2 separate regions of the Homo sapiens genome follow, and region 2 is linked to region 1. The links are contacts of gene promoters, found by promoter capture Hi-C in human tissues and cell types (Jung and others, 2019). All regions are on one chromosome and are shown on one strand. Each heading gives the region's core, a stretch centred on a gene start or on the middle of the fragment in contact. The rest is flanking DNA. Distances are from core to core; before and after follow the strand shown.

Region 1 (7,332 bases), core at 2,255-4,754:
CACCTGATGTTAGGAGTTCAAGACCAGCCACCTAACCAACATGGAGAAACCCCATCTCTACTAAAAGTACGAAATTAGCAGGGCATGGTGGCGCATGCCTGTAATCCCAGCTACTCTGGAGGCTGAGGCAGGAGAATTGCTTGAACCCAGGAGGTGGAGGTTGCAGTGAGCCAAGATCGCGCCATTGCACTCCAGTCTGGGCAATAAGGGCGAAACTCTGTCTCAAAAACAAAAACAAAAACAAACAAAAACCCCCACCTTTTTAAAAACTGCAATAAAATCTATTAATGTTCTAATTATATGTTGTATCTTATGATTTCTCTTTCTTCAGTTTTTTTCTCATGATGGGGATTAATTGACACTTGTGAGTGGCACAAAGAATAACACCTCATTTTACACATGACTTAGATGACTGAGTGAGAAGAAACAAAACGGCAGAAGCTGGGTGCCACCCGGATGTTGACAAAAAGGTTGAGTCATGAGATGAAGGGTGGACTGGAATCCCTTCTGAGTGTCCTCTAGCCTGATGGTCTCTGTAGCTTTAAGAGGTGAACATCTTGTGTGTCCAGCCATCCCTACGGGGAGGTCAGAGGGACCAGAATCCTGAGGAGAAAGCACCACAGGTGACCACTAGAGGGTGCCCTTCATTCTCCTTGACACCCTCTGGTCCAGCCGCTAATCTAGGGCCCTCAGGGACCTCTTTAGTTGCCCAGACCAGCAGGTGGCATTTCAGATGTGCAGAAAGAACACAACCGCCCCAACTTCCTGCCCTCCTCTTGTGGTGGAAAGACAAATGGTGGAGTCGGGGAAGAATGTAGATAGCAAGGAAGTGGGTAGATCCAGATGCCGTGGTGTGTGTCCCTAAACTTTGCTCTCAAGCCTCTGACTGCCCAACACATTCACTCTTGATCAGCCATGCAACCATCTCTTTCTCTCCAAATACTATGGCTGCTTTGTGTCTGTCCACATTCTGTCCATTTGGTGAGCTCCTACACATCCTTCAAGGCCCAGTTCAAATGCTACCACTCAGACCCTTTCTTCTCTCCCACTTTTGTGCTTCCACAGCACTAGCATTCATCACTTTGCATAGTAATAACTTATGTGCCTTCTGTCCTGTAGAACATGTGCCATGTGCTCTACCCATGAATGACTTGCCCAGTTCTGAGTCTCTACTTGTTGAGCACAGGGTCTGGCACAAATTGAAGGTCATTGTATTTAGCCTGCATCATATTATGGCTTCAACTTCCTCCTACACTTTGCGGGACTTTCTTGAAGGCAGATGGCAAAATCCCTGGAGCACTTTCATATTTGTCAATTGAATTCTTTCATTTTACAACAAGGAAACTGAGGCTCAGAGAAGGGAAGGATTCACAAAGAAAGTTTTGTCAAACCGGGCCTGGAATTCTGATCACCTGACACCTCAGGCTTGAACTTGCTGTGCAAAAGGCATTGTTAGAAATAGTAGGGCTACAGAGTTTACTATATCACAGCTGAACTGAGGTCCTTAAAGGTTAGCAAAATAATTTATTGAGTAATTTATTGAATGAATGAATGAAACACAAACCAAGAAGTCACAGCTTTGTTAGCCTAGGATGAGCTCTATCCACAGAAGCATTTATTCACCCCTCAGAAGAGAATTTTTTTTTTTTTTTTTTTTGAGACGGAGTGTTGCTCTGTCACCCCGGCTGGAGTGCAGTGGCTCGATCTCGGCTCACTGCAACCTCCGCCTCCCAGGTTCAAGCGATTCTTCTGCCTCAGCCTCCCAAGTAGCTGGGACTACAGGCACCTGCCACCATGCCTGGCTAATTTTTGTATTTTTAGTAGAGACGGGATTTCACCATGTTGGCCAGGCTGGTCTCAAACGCCTGACCTCATGATCCGCCTGCCTTGGCCTCCCAAAGTGCTGGGATTTCAGGCGTGAGCCACTGTGCCCGGCCTAGAAGAAAATTTTAAATTGGCTTTTAGGAAGGTTTTTTAGCAGCTAAACTTTGGATGAGCCTAAGAAGAAAGAGTTCAGGCCTTGGCCAGGTGCAGTGGCTCAACTCTGTAATCCCAGCACTTTGGGAGGCCGAGGCAGGTGGATCACTTGAGGTCAGGAGTTCGAGACCAGCCTGGCCAACATGGTGAAACCCTGTCTCTACTAAAAATACAAAGATTAGCCGGATGCGGTGGCACACACCTGTAGTCCCAGCTACTTGGGAGGCTGAGGCAGGAGAATTGCTTGAACCTGGGAGTCGGAGGTTGCAGTGTGCTGAGATTGAGCCACTGCACTCCAGCCTGGCGACAGAGTGAGACTGCATCTCAAAAAAAAAAAAAAAAAAGAAAGAAAGAAAGAAAAAGAAAAAAGAAATTAGTAAACACTGCAAATCAGGAATCTTCTGAGCCAGATGTTTTGTTTTGTTTGTTTGAGATAGAGTCTTGCTCTGTTGCCCAGGCTGGAGCGCAATGGTGTGATCTTGGCTCACTGCAACCTCCACCTCGCGGGTCCAAGCAATTCTCCCGCCTCAGCCTCCTGAGTAGCTGGGACTACCGGTTCACACCAAAATGCCCAGCTAATTTTTGTATTTTTAGTAGAGATGGGGTTTCACCATGTTGGCCAGGCTGGTCTCGAACTACTGACTTCAGGTGATCCACCCGCCTTGGCCTCCCAAAGTGCTGGGATTACAGGTGTGAGCCACCGCACCCAGCCAGAGCCCGGTGTTTGTTAAATTTACCAGACATATATCAGACATTATCAGATATTTATCAGACATATCTGGTTATCATTATTACTGAAATGGATAACAACTCATTCGCTCTGGGCAAATACAATGCACATCCGTTTGCCTATTTTTACTAATGTGACTGCTCATTTGAGTCAGAACCAGCCAATTCAACAAAATGGCTAATTGGTTTCCCCACTCCAACCCCCATGGTCAGAGGCCGTGGGCCTCGCTGGGAGTTCTGTCTCACAGTATTGCACGAGGGGACCCAACTCAGTCAAAATGCTCCACTGGCCACATTTCTCAAGGTCGCCACTCACACGCCTTTAGAAACAGGAAGCCTGTCCCTTGCCTCCTCCAAGCAGAAGATGTCTCAGCAGTTCCAAGGTGCACAGGAGCTTTCAAGAGTCACCTTCATGGTGAGATGGTGAGTTTGTCACACATGAGCTGGTTTCTTACCTGGATCTGTCTCTGCATGGGAGCTGGCGTCCTGTCGCTCTTCTTGAGACTGAGGTTGCCACATCCAGGAATGCTCACGGCAAACTCGTCTGTGGGGACACCAAACCCACCCCCACTGCCAAGTCTCCACCCTGGCCCCTGGCCCCTGCCAGGACCCCCTACCACACCATGAGGGTCCTCTGGTAGGCCTTGCGGGAGCGACACGGGGCAGTGAGAAGATTCTGGCTTCTGGACAGCCGTGGGTCATGAGCTTCCCTGGAAAAGGGATGGTTGCCTAGAGATGACGCCAGGGTCTCTGCCCCGTGGGCTGACTAGAAAGGGGAAGTGGTCAGGATGGGGCTCACTGTCTCTAGCAGTGGGTGAAGGCCTGTGAGTGAGGAATGCCTCTCACCAGCTGTGCCTGAGCTGCAGCACTCCAGCCACTGCTGTCTCCTTAGCTGCTCACATATGGATACTTTCACAGTTCAGGTAAGCATCTCAGCTTTCCAAGGGACAGTTTCCTGCTCTCTTCACAGCAGACATCTGCCAGCGCTGGCATCAGGGCGTGTCCCTGGGAGCCACCGATCAGCACTGGGCCAGGGGATTGCAGCCTGGGGCCCTGGTACGACTGCTGTGTAGGGTTGGAGAAAAACTTGCATTGAAGGATCTGCTCTACTGGTAACTGGCTGAGTGACCTGAGGCATCACTTCACCTCTCTGGGCCTTTTCCTCATGTGTATGTCAGGGGCGATGAAGAAGTCTACCTCTTGGATTGAAATGAGATAATGACCGGGAGTGAGAGGTCTCAACTGTAACGAGTTACTCTCACTTTCTGGATGCCGATGGTGTGTTTTGGGACTTGTTATGTGAGAAGACTGTCATGGTGCTATGCTGGAGGTGGGGGTGGGAGCGAGGCACTGACTGTGTCAATTTATTTATTTTTATTTTATTTTGAGATGGAGTTTCGCTCTTGTCGCCCAGGCTGGAGTGCAGTGACGTGATCTCGGCTCACTGCAACCACCGCCTCCCGGGTTCAAGCGATTCTCCTGCCTCAGCCTCCTGAGTAGCTGGGATTACAGGCACCCGCCACCACACCTGGCTAATTTCTGTATTTTTAGTAGAGACGGAGTTTCACCATGTTGGCCAGGCTGCTCTCGAACTCCTGACCTCAGGTGATCCGCCCGCCTCGGCCTCCCAAAGTGCTGGGATTACCGTAGCATGAATTTAGGCTACGTCTTGGGGCTCTTGGATGAAAGACCTGGATCACCTCCAGTCTTGGTACCTTTGTCATTGCATCTCTGGCTTTCAGTAGTTCATTAGGCACCTTCCCTTCCAGAGGCCTCGAGATCAAAGTGTGTTGGGCTGGCGTGAGTTCTCGGTGTAGCCATCTGCTTTTGCCCTCTGGAAAATTATTTTGAGAAGAGATCTGGGTTTGGCTTTGCCATATCCACTCCCACTGCCTGGTGTGTCCACTTGTCCCTGAGGTCTTGGCCATGAAGCAATGTGGAGCACAGGCTTCACTCTGCTTCAGTGGTAAATAACTACTGAGAGGCAGGCGGGGCATGGTGGCTCACGCCTCTAATCCCAGCACTTTGGGAGGCCAAGGTGGGCAGATCACAAGGTCAAGAGATCAAGACCAGCCTGGCCAACATGGTGAAACCCTGTCTCTACTACAAATACAAAAATTAGCTGGGCATGGTGGTGGGCGCCTATAGCCCCAGCTACTCGGGAAGCTGAGGCAGGAGAATCGTTTGAGCCCGGGAGGTGGAGGTTGCAGTGAGCCAAGATTATGTCACTGCACTCCAGCCTGGTGACAGAGCAAGACTCCATCTCAAAAACAAACAAACAAACTACTGAGAGGCTTAAAGCAAGGAAGGGACAGGGTCACACTGGTATTTGGCAGCCAGTGGGGAGCCCAGTGGGGGCTAGGGGCCAGCGAAAATGCAATGGTCCAGGTACAGAGATGAGGACTTGGACTACATTTGGAGGCTGATGGGCTGAAGCGGGGTGGGGATGGGGCCATGGGAGAAAGAGGAATGAGGCAAGGTTTCCGGTCTTTTCCAGAAGTGAAAGTATAGAGAAGGGAAGAAGAGAGGCTGGACTCCTTTTAATGACCCTGCCGTGCACTTCCCCATGCACACTTGGGTTTTAAGTTGCCAGTGACTATCCACATGGCCATTTCTGGTGCTGACATCAGTGAGAAGGACAAGTGGAGCGAGGCTCAGTGGCTCACGCCTGTAATCCCAGCACTTTGGGAGGCCGAGGCAGGTGGATCACTTGAGGTCAGGAGTTTGAGACCAGCCAGGCCAACATGGCAAAACCCCATCTCTACTAAAAATACACAAAAATTAGCCGGGTATGGTGGTGCGTGTCGGTAATCCCAGCTACTCAGGAGGCTGACACAGGAGAATAGCTTGAACCAGGAAGTAGAGGTTGCAGTGAGCTGAGATTGCACCAGTGGAGTCTAGCCTGGGTGACAGAGCAAGACGCCATCTCAAAAAAAAAAAAAGAAGAAGAACGAGTGGGAACAAGGCCTCACTTAGCATGAACAGCAACAGTCGGGGAATTAGAGGTGAACTGGGGCAAGAACTGCTCATGCCAACCGGCCTAAATGTTCTCTACAGCCTCTCAGACCCTCGAGATCTAGACTGAGATTAGTTCGAACCCTCATTCCAGGCCTGCCGAAGTCCAAAGCCCTCCCCAGGACTTCTGTGGACTCCCGAGGAGCCCACCTCTTTTTCCATGGTCAGCAATGGGCCTGCAGCCTCTGTGGGTAAAACTGTTTACACTGCGCTGTTTACACTGCACTGTTTGCACTGTTTATACTGTTTATACTGCACTGTTTATACTGCACTGTTTACACTGCACTGTTTATATTCCACCCCTTTCTTAGTCCCCCACACCCCTAGAACAAATCTGCTCACAAAAGAATTGGCAGATGCAGCAGACTTTACCAAAGACTCAGCGGGGGACCACCAGAGGGGCTTGTAACGCATCAGCGCAAACAACTGCACACAGAACATAACACGGCGCTGCTCTGAAAATGTCTTTGCCAGCCCATCCCTGAGCATTTTCTATCAGCTCCTCCTCTTGATACCAAATGAGGCCCATTCTGCTCATCGCACAGTAAGCCAATCACTGAGGTGACCAGTTTTTTTTTTTTGTTTTTGAGACGGAGTCTCGCTCTGTCGCCCAGGCTGGAGTGCAGTGGCGCAATCTCGGCTCACTGCAAGCTCCGCCTCCCGGGTTCACGCCATTCTCCTGCCTCAGCCTCCCGAGTAGCTGGGACTACAGGCGCCTGCCACCATGCCTGGCTAATTTTTTGTATTTTTTAAGTAGAGACAGGGTTTCATTGTGTTAGCCAGGATGGTCTTGATCTCCTGACCTCGTGATCCGCCCGCCTCAGCCTCCCAAAGTGCTGGGATTACAGGCGTGAGCCACCGCGTCCCGCCAAGATGACCAGTTTTGCAGCACAGAATGCATTTATTCATGAGGCAGCCAAGTGAGGAGATGGGAAAACAGGTCTCAAACCCACTTCCTCGAAGATGGGGTTTAGAGACGTTTATGGGACAAAGAAGCAGGTGGCCTAAGGTGTGGGGAAGGTGATTGGAGGGAAAAGTAGGACATCGGCAATCTGTGCAAGCCTAGTCAAGCTTCATCGTTCTTCATAGGATGCAGGTTCACAAAATGGTGGCATTAGCATGATGGAAGATGGAGTTTTTGGCGCTCTGACATCAAACGTCACCTACTGGACACTCACACAGACCAAGTTGAAGGATTGATGGTCATAAGTGGCTTGAACTGGATAAGAGCTGACCCCAAGTTCCTGAAAAACAACTTTTTTTCTTTTCTTTTTTTTTTTTTGAGATGGAGTTTCACTCTCGTCACTCAGGCTGGAGTGCAATGGCGTGATCCTGGAGGCTCACTGCAACCTCTACCTCCTGGGTTCAAATGATTCTCCCTCAGCCTTCCGAGTGGCTGGGATTACAGGCGCCTGCCACCACACCAGGCTAATTTCTGTATTTTTAGTAGAGACGGGGTTTCACCATCTTGGCCAGGCTGGTCTCGAACTCCTGACTTCAGGTGATCTGCCTACCTTGGCCTCCCAAAGTGCTGGGATTACAGGCGTGAGCCACCGTGCCCAGCCCTTGAAAAACAACTTAAACAACCATTACTATGATGACCTATATGTC
Region 2 (7,332 bases), core at 2,605-5,104, 76 kb before region 1:
AGTTTAGGAAAAGCTGAATCAGAAAATACTTCAACAGAAAAGCAATAAAACTTTCAGAAATATAGCCGGGCATGGTGGCTCACACCTGTAATCCCAGCACTTTGGGAAGCTGAAGTGGGCGGATCACAAGGTCAGGAGATCGAGACCATCATGGCTAACACGGTGAAACCCCGTCTCTACTAAAAATACAAAAAATTAGCCAGGCGTGGTGGCGGGCGCCTGTAGTCCCAGCTACTCGGGAGGCTGAGGGAGGAGAATGGCGTGAAGCCAGGAGGCGGAGCTTGCAGTGAGCCGAGATCGTGCCACTGCACTCCAGCCTGGGTGACAGAGCAAGACTCCATCTCAAAAAAAAAAAAAAAACTTTCAGAAATATTTATAACATTCCCAGTTGAAGTCGGCTTGGAAAAGAAGGGGTACTAAGACCAGCCTGGAAAACGTGGTGAAAGCCCAACTCTACTAAAAATACAAAAACTAGCTGGGCGTGGTGGCACCCGCCTGTAGTCCCAGCTACTTAGGAGGCTAAGGCAGGAGAATCACTTGAACCTGGGAGGCGGAGGCTGCAGTGAGCCAAGATCGTGCCACTGCACTCCAGCCTGGGCAACAGAGCAAAACTCCATCTCAAAAAAAAAAAAAAAAAAAAAAAAAAGAATAGGTACTAAGAAAAGAACAGGCAGTAAGAGAAGTAAAAAGGTGCATTTCTCATTACCATTTGCACTTATATTTCAGCTATTCTCCAAACAAGTGCAAACACAGCTATGACAACACTAAAGCAAAAGCTGGACCTATTGGGGAAAAACCAATGTTTGGACTTTCAGGGTTACCTTGACCTGGTTTTCCTGAAAGATAAAACAAAGACTGCTGTCCACATCAAAATCCTGGTTTATACTGTAAACACCTGTGGCAATCATTAAAGACTAGATTTAGACTTCACAGTAGATACAATAAAAGCTGCTGTCTCAGGGGAAATCTTCACATTTGATTTTTATTATGATATAGGCTAACGGCCAAGACAAAAACTAATAATCAGCATTGACCTTTTATATACTATGCATTTTCTTTAGGAACGCCACCAAAAACTCAAAAAGGATCACAGTATTTTTTTTGAAATTTTGTAAAAAGCTACCCCAACTGTTCGCTGTGGCCAACTGAGTTTACTGAGCGCTCTGGACAGTAAAGATACAACAGTACACAAAAAGCCCATTTACCGGGTTTAGATGCATCAATGCAATCTTAACAAACCAAGCATGTTTTCTGAACCAACCCATGTTACAAGCTCTTTAATTCACAGATCTAAAACTGCAGTTGATAATGCATTTCAGAAATGGGAGGTTCTTAGTCATTTTCATTTCTTCAGAGTTTTTGGGAAAATTCTATTTTATAATTTCAAAGAAAATAAGAAAACAAAGGAACCCTAACAGTTTTATTGGGGACAGAGAAAAAGAAAGCAAAACAAACAAGGTTTAGACAAGACTGACTTCAATTAGCTGTAGACAGGATGAACAAGCTACAGAGGTTTTGGTATAAGAGGTAAAGGAGAAAATGGATATCATTAGCCAGCATCATACTGCTGGGTTTCAACTTATCACCAGAGAAAATACTACCACAACCTTTTATATATACATCAAATGTATTACAGGTCATCTTGACAAGAATATAGCATTTCAGAGTTGACAGTGGTGCTTGATTAATTCAAAAACATGAACAAATTTTAAAAGGGAGACGATAAATTCATGTAAAGATACTGAATAACCAGATAGAACTTATTTCTCTTGAGACAGAGTCTCGCTCTGTCGACCAGGCTGGAGTGCAGTGGCGCGATCTTGGCTCACTGCAACTTCTGCCTCCTGGGTTCAAGCAATTCTCCTAACTGAGCTCCCCAAGTAGCTGGGACTACAGGCACACACCATCACCAGGCCCAGCTAATTTTTGTATTTTTAATACAGACAGGGTTTCACCATGTTGGCCAGGCCGGACTCTAACTCCTGACCTCAGGTGATCCACCCGCCTCAGCCTCTCAAACTGCTAGGATTACAGGCATGTGCGACCGTGCCTAGTCCAGACAGGACTATTTCTTGTGACACACAATACATCTTGAAATGATGATACTGTGCAAAATGTATTATCTACCACAGTAGACTATTCTTTCTTGGGAATAGAAACCATATATCTCATTCATCCCAACCTCCACAGTGTCTTGCAGAGTGCCACCATGACTAGACATGAACATCAGCTTTCCCACCTACTTACCAGCCTATAAAAGAAAATAAAAAACAGCCCTCCTGAAAGCCATGAAAAAATGGAACTCCATTCCATACCACAGTCAGTAATCCTTTCCAAGCCAGGGCTAAATTCTACAAGGCCTAAGAACCTTCCATCATATAGTATTTTACTATGGTTCATTGTCCTGTTGTATTAAAAACTCCTCTATGAGGCCAGGCACGGTGGCTCATGCCTGTAATCCCAGCAGTTTGGGAGGCTGAGGCGGGCAGATCATTTGAGGTTAGGAGTTCAAGATCAGCCTGGCCAACAGGGTGAAACCCTGTCTCTACTAAAAATACAAAAAAATTAGCCAGGTGTGGTGGCACACACCTGTAATCCCTGCTACTCGGGAGGCTAAGGCAGGAGAATCACTTGAACCGTGGGGCAGAGGTTGCAGTGAGCCAAGATTGTTGTGCCACTGCACTCCAGCCTGAGCGAAAAAGTGAGACTCTGCCTCACAGAGGGATAACTAAAATTAGTGTCAATAATTAAAAAGTGAATGACTAATAACAGTGTAACAAATCTTTTGGCAAGTCAGGTGGACGCAAGTCCTCTTTCAACAAAATTGAAGACAGACCTAATTCAGTTGTTAGCTGATAGGATAAAAACATTTTGATGCTAAAGAACTATGTAATTTAACATATAATTTAGAAACAGCTAAGAGAATTGAATAATAATTGCTGTAATAAAACTCTGTTTCTATTTACTCACTCATGAGACCAAGGGTTCTTGGCATTTATATGTTTAAAAAAATAAAACTACAATAGAATTGATGCTGACAAGCTATCTTTTTCTAGCAGTAAATAATATGCATCCAGAGATTAACGATTTAATGAGAACCAATATATCTCAAAAGAGCTGCATTTCCAATGATTTTTATATTTTCCTATTTTTTAGTCTGTTTTTTTTTTTTTTTTTTTTTTTGAGATGAAGTCGCTCTGTCACCCAGGCTGGATGGAGTGCAGTGGCACAATCTCAGCTTGCTGCAACCTCCGCCTCCCAGGTTCAAGCGATTCTCCTGCCTCAGCCTTCTGAGTAGCTGGGATTACAGACCCATGCCAACATGCCTTCTAATTTTTGTATTTTTTTTGTAGAGACAGAGTTTCACCATGTTGGCCCAGCTGGTCTCGAACTCATGACCTTGTGATCCGCCTGCCTCGGCCTCCCAAAATGCTGGGATTACAGGTGTCAGCCACCGTGCCTGGCCTTATTTTCATAGTAATATGTAAAATATCCATAATGTGATCAACTGTGTATTTATAATAAATTTTAATAATATCTCCGTAAAGAAAACATTTATATGCATATTTTAAGAGTTCCAAGCACAAGATGTTACTTTAGGCCAGTAGTTTTTAAAGTATGGTCTCTGAACAGTAACATCTCCGCCAACTGGTAACTTGCTAAAAACACAAACTCTGGATCCCAGTGCCCTAGTGAGTCAGCGTCTCTGAGGGGGGAAGCCAGTAATCCTTGTTTTAACGAACCCTATTAGGTAATTCAAATGCACACGCAAGCCCATTGTGGTGGCTCACGCCTGTAATCCCAGCACTCTGGGAGGCCGAGGCAGGCGGATCATCTGAGGTCAGGAGTTCGAGACCAGCCTGGCCAACATGGTGAGACCCCGTCTCTACTAGAAATACAAAAATTAGCAGGGCGTGGTGGCACACACCTGTAGCCCCAGCTACTAGGGAGGCTAAGGCACAAGAGTCGCTTGAACCCAGGAGGCGGAGGTTGCAGTGAGCCAAGATCACACCACTGCACTTCAGCCTGGACAACACAGCGAGACTCGGTCTCAAAAAAAAAAAAAAATGAATGAAACAAATGCACACTCAAGTTTCAAAACCATTTTTAAGAAAAAAATTCTAAAGGAGATGTAAAGAAGAAAACCCAACGCAAGGAGGAAAACCACTGTAAAATTTCGGCTATAAAGCTATTCATGTGTTTGTTAAACAGATAACAATGGATAAATCACTGATATTTTCATTCCACTGGATATGTTTAAAAGCAGGAAGTTGGCCAGGCGTGGTGGCTCACCCAGCACTTTGGGAGGCCGAAGCGGGCGGATCACAAGGTCAGGAGTTTGAGACCAGCCTGACCAACATGGTGAAACCCCGTCTCTACTAAAAATACAAAAATTAGCCGGGCATGGTGGCACACACCTGTAATCCCAGCTACTCGGGAGGCTGGGGCAGGGCAGGAGAATCACTTGAATATGGGAGGCGGAGGTTGTAGTGAGCTGAGATAGTGCCACTGAACTCCAGCCTGCGTGACAGGGGAAGATGTCGGGGGAGACTCCCATCTCAAAAAAAAAAAAAAAAAAGGACGAAGCTTTCATTTAAATTGTAAATATCAACAATATAAAATTTTATCCTTCACATCTTTTCAAGCAAAAAATTTTAAACATCAACTTTAACATGTATGAAGGTTGTATGTAAGTATATATTTTACAGAGTTCATAAGTTAAAAAAGGTGCATGATCACTAGTCCAGAACAGGATTTTTCAAACTGTAGTACTTGAACTAGCAGTAACTGGAATCATCTATGAGCTTATTAGAAATGCAAATTTCTGGGCTCCACCCAAACATACTGTGGTTTAACAAGCTCTCCAGGTGATTTTTATCCACATTTGAATTTGAGAGCCACTATTCTATTATAGACTAGAGCAGTTTTCAAAATTTAGTGTGCAGCTGGACCCAAATCCCACAGTTTCTAACTCAGTAAATCTGGGTGGGACCCAAACATTTGCATTTCTAACAACTTTCCCAGGTGATGATGACGATAATGATGCTGTTCCACAATCACACTTTGAGAATCACTGGTCTAGAGAGCTGTGGAAACTACATTCACATTATTCTAGGTCGATACTCAGAAGGTAAGCCCCTTCCCTGATCCTTCAAATCAGGTCCCCCAACATGTTCTCTCATGTATTTTCCTTATACAGTTTCTTTTTCTTTTTTTTTTTTTTTTGAGATGGGAGTTTCACTCTTGTCGCCCACGCTGGAGTGCAATGGCGCAATCTCAGCTCACCTCAACGTCTGCCTCCTGGGTTCAAGCAATTCTTCTGCCTCAGCCTCCCGAGCAGCTGGGATTACAGGCATGCGCCACCATGCCCAGCTAATTTTGTATTTTTAGTACAGACAGGGTTTCTCCATGTTGGCCAGGCTGGACTTGAACTCCCGACCTCAGGTGATCCGCCCCCGCCCGTTGGCCTCCCAAAGTGCTGGGATTACAGGTGTGAGCCACCGCGCCCAGCCTGCAATTTCCTGTTTTAACGACTCATCACACAATTACTTAACATCTGTTTTGCTCATTGAGTTCAACCAAGTTAAAGAACCACATGAATTTTCCTCTTTCTGTATACCCAACACAAGTATAATGTCTGCCTCATAGTAGATATTAAATAAATATTTATTGATAAATAACTGAATATTTGTTGGGTAAAACTGATGTTTCATGGAATTAAAGATAACATAGCTAAAGCTGTTATTAGAATGCCAACAATCCTAGTTTGCCCACAACTGTATCCCAAATGTTAAGAGCAATAACATTCTCTTATCTCAAGGCTATGCAACCTAAATATGAACAGTAAGATCAAAAAACAAGGCAAAATCTGAAGAAGGCATTTTTCAACTTGTTTTTCAATCCCATTCTTAACCTAGCCTTTAAACAGTATTCTTTTATTATGCAAGTACAAATAAAATCAAGGTTTATTCAATGATAAAATTAACACTACTACCAAGAAACTCAACACTTTAAGGCAGTTTTCGCATTGAAGTTGGTGCGAGACTTATGAACTTACCCTCTTTAGCCAAATATAACTCCTTAAATTTTGCTCTCTTTTGATTAAATTCTTGTTCAAGCTGCTGTTGTGCACGTAAAAATTCTGCATTAATTTTTTCCAATTCTGCTACCCGTTGCTGAAGAGAAACTGGGGGAAAAAAACACTAGTTAACAAGTAATAACTTTTATTCATAAATTTATAAAACAGTAAATTAGTATTCTAGCTGTACATTGCTATACGTGAAACAAGTAGTCAAGCTTCTTCCAAAAATCCACCATATGCTAGGATATTCTAATGTTTAAAAAAAGTAAGACAGACCAGGCATGGTGGCTCACGCCTGTAATCCCAGCACTTTGGGAGGCCGAGGCGGGCGGATCACCCGAGGTCAGGAGTTCGAGACCAGCCTGGCCGACATGGAGAAATCCCATCTCTATTAAAAATACAAAAATTAGCCAGGTGTAGTGGCAGGTGCCTGTAATCCCAGCTACTCAGGAGGCTGAGGCAGGAGAATCGCTTGAACCCGGGAGGCGGAGGTTGCAGTGGGCCGAGATCGCACCACTGCACTCTAGCCTGGGTGACAGAGTGAGACTCTGTCTCAAAAAAAAAAAAAAAGATCCTTGTATTAGACTTAATACACAACTGTAAATGAGTCATGTAAAGTGAAACCACAAATATACAGAGAATCACATAAGGCCAACTTCCCCACAAAAAAAAGAGCTTCTAAAGTGCCTTTGTGCAACTGAATAGCAATTTAATTTTAGAACTGTTAAATATTGGATTATTTGAACTACTTATCCCACAAATGAACCTACTGCCAATCTTGCTATTTCCCATTTCTCTCAAGTGTCACAAGCAAAATCTAATAGGTTCCCTAACTAGTGTAGCCATACCAGACTGAACTATTCTTCCAACTTCAAAATGATCCATTACCATTATACTGAGATCATAATCAAAAACCCATTCATAGAGAGGATACAGAACTGCACATTCTATATAAACTCTCAATTACTGGGAGATAATCTGGTTTTCTTCCATGTTTTCAACATTGATCATGGTGTGCGGAGATTAGCAGACTTTTTACTTTATGGACTCTATAATTTGGACACAGCTGGTTAAATGATTGCCTTCCCTGACCAAACCCAGGGGTTCCTTTGATTGAAGCATAAGATAGGAGGTCCAGCTGTGCAAACCCCTGATCTCCCCTTTTGCCCCAACAGCATCCCAGCCTTAAAGCTATGACCATAATCCCTTTAGGGGATATCGGTTAGTACTAATCAACCACTAACTACTTA

Evidence for each region. The method cuts DNA at HindIII sites, captures the fragments that hold promoters and counts their contacts. A contact is called where the count stands out against the background at its distance.
Region 2: a fragment that was not itself captured here is called in contact with the fragment with the promoter of SCIMP in region 1 in 8 of the 25 tissues and cell types used here (H1 embryonic stem cells, IMR-90 fibroblasts, adrenal gland and 5 more).

Annotation. Positions count from the first base shown.
Region 1 is chr17:5,231,032-5,238,363 of GRCh38, reverse strand. It overlaps SCIMP (SLP adaptor and CSK interacting membrane protein), which reads left to right and starts at 3,504. Exons shown (of 5, transcript NM_207103.3): 1 at 3,504-3,629. The coding sequence starts at 3,609. ZNF594-DT (ZNF594 divergent transcript) reads right to left here. Exons shown (of 6, transcript NR_152840.1): 6 at 2,361-3,250. RefSeq lists enhancers at 818-1,117, 3,063-3,262. The HindIII fragment of the contact is 19,973 bases long and covers 1-7,332 here.
Region 2 is chr17:5,307,549-5,314,880 of GRCh38, reverse strand. It overlaps RABEP1 (rabaptin, RAB GTPase binding effector protein 1), which reads right to left. Exons shown (of 18, transcript NM_004703.6): 2 at 6,059-6,187. Among named protein-coding and RNA genes, the nearest start is that of RABEP1, 29 kb to the right of the region's middle. The HindIII fragment of the contact is 6,443 bases long and covers 633-7,075 here.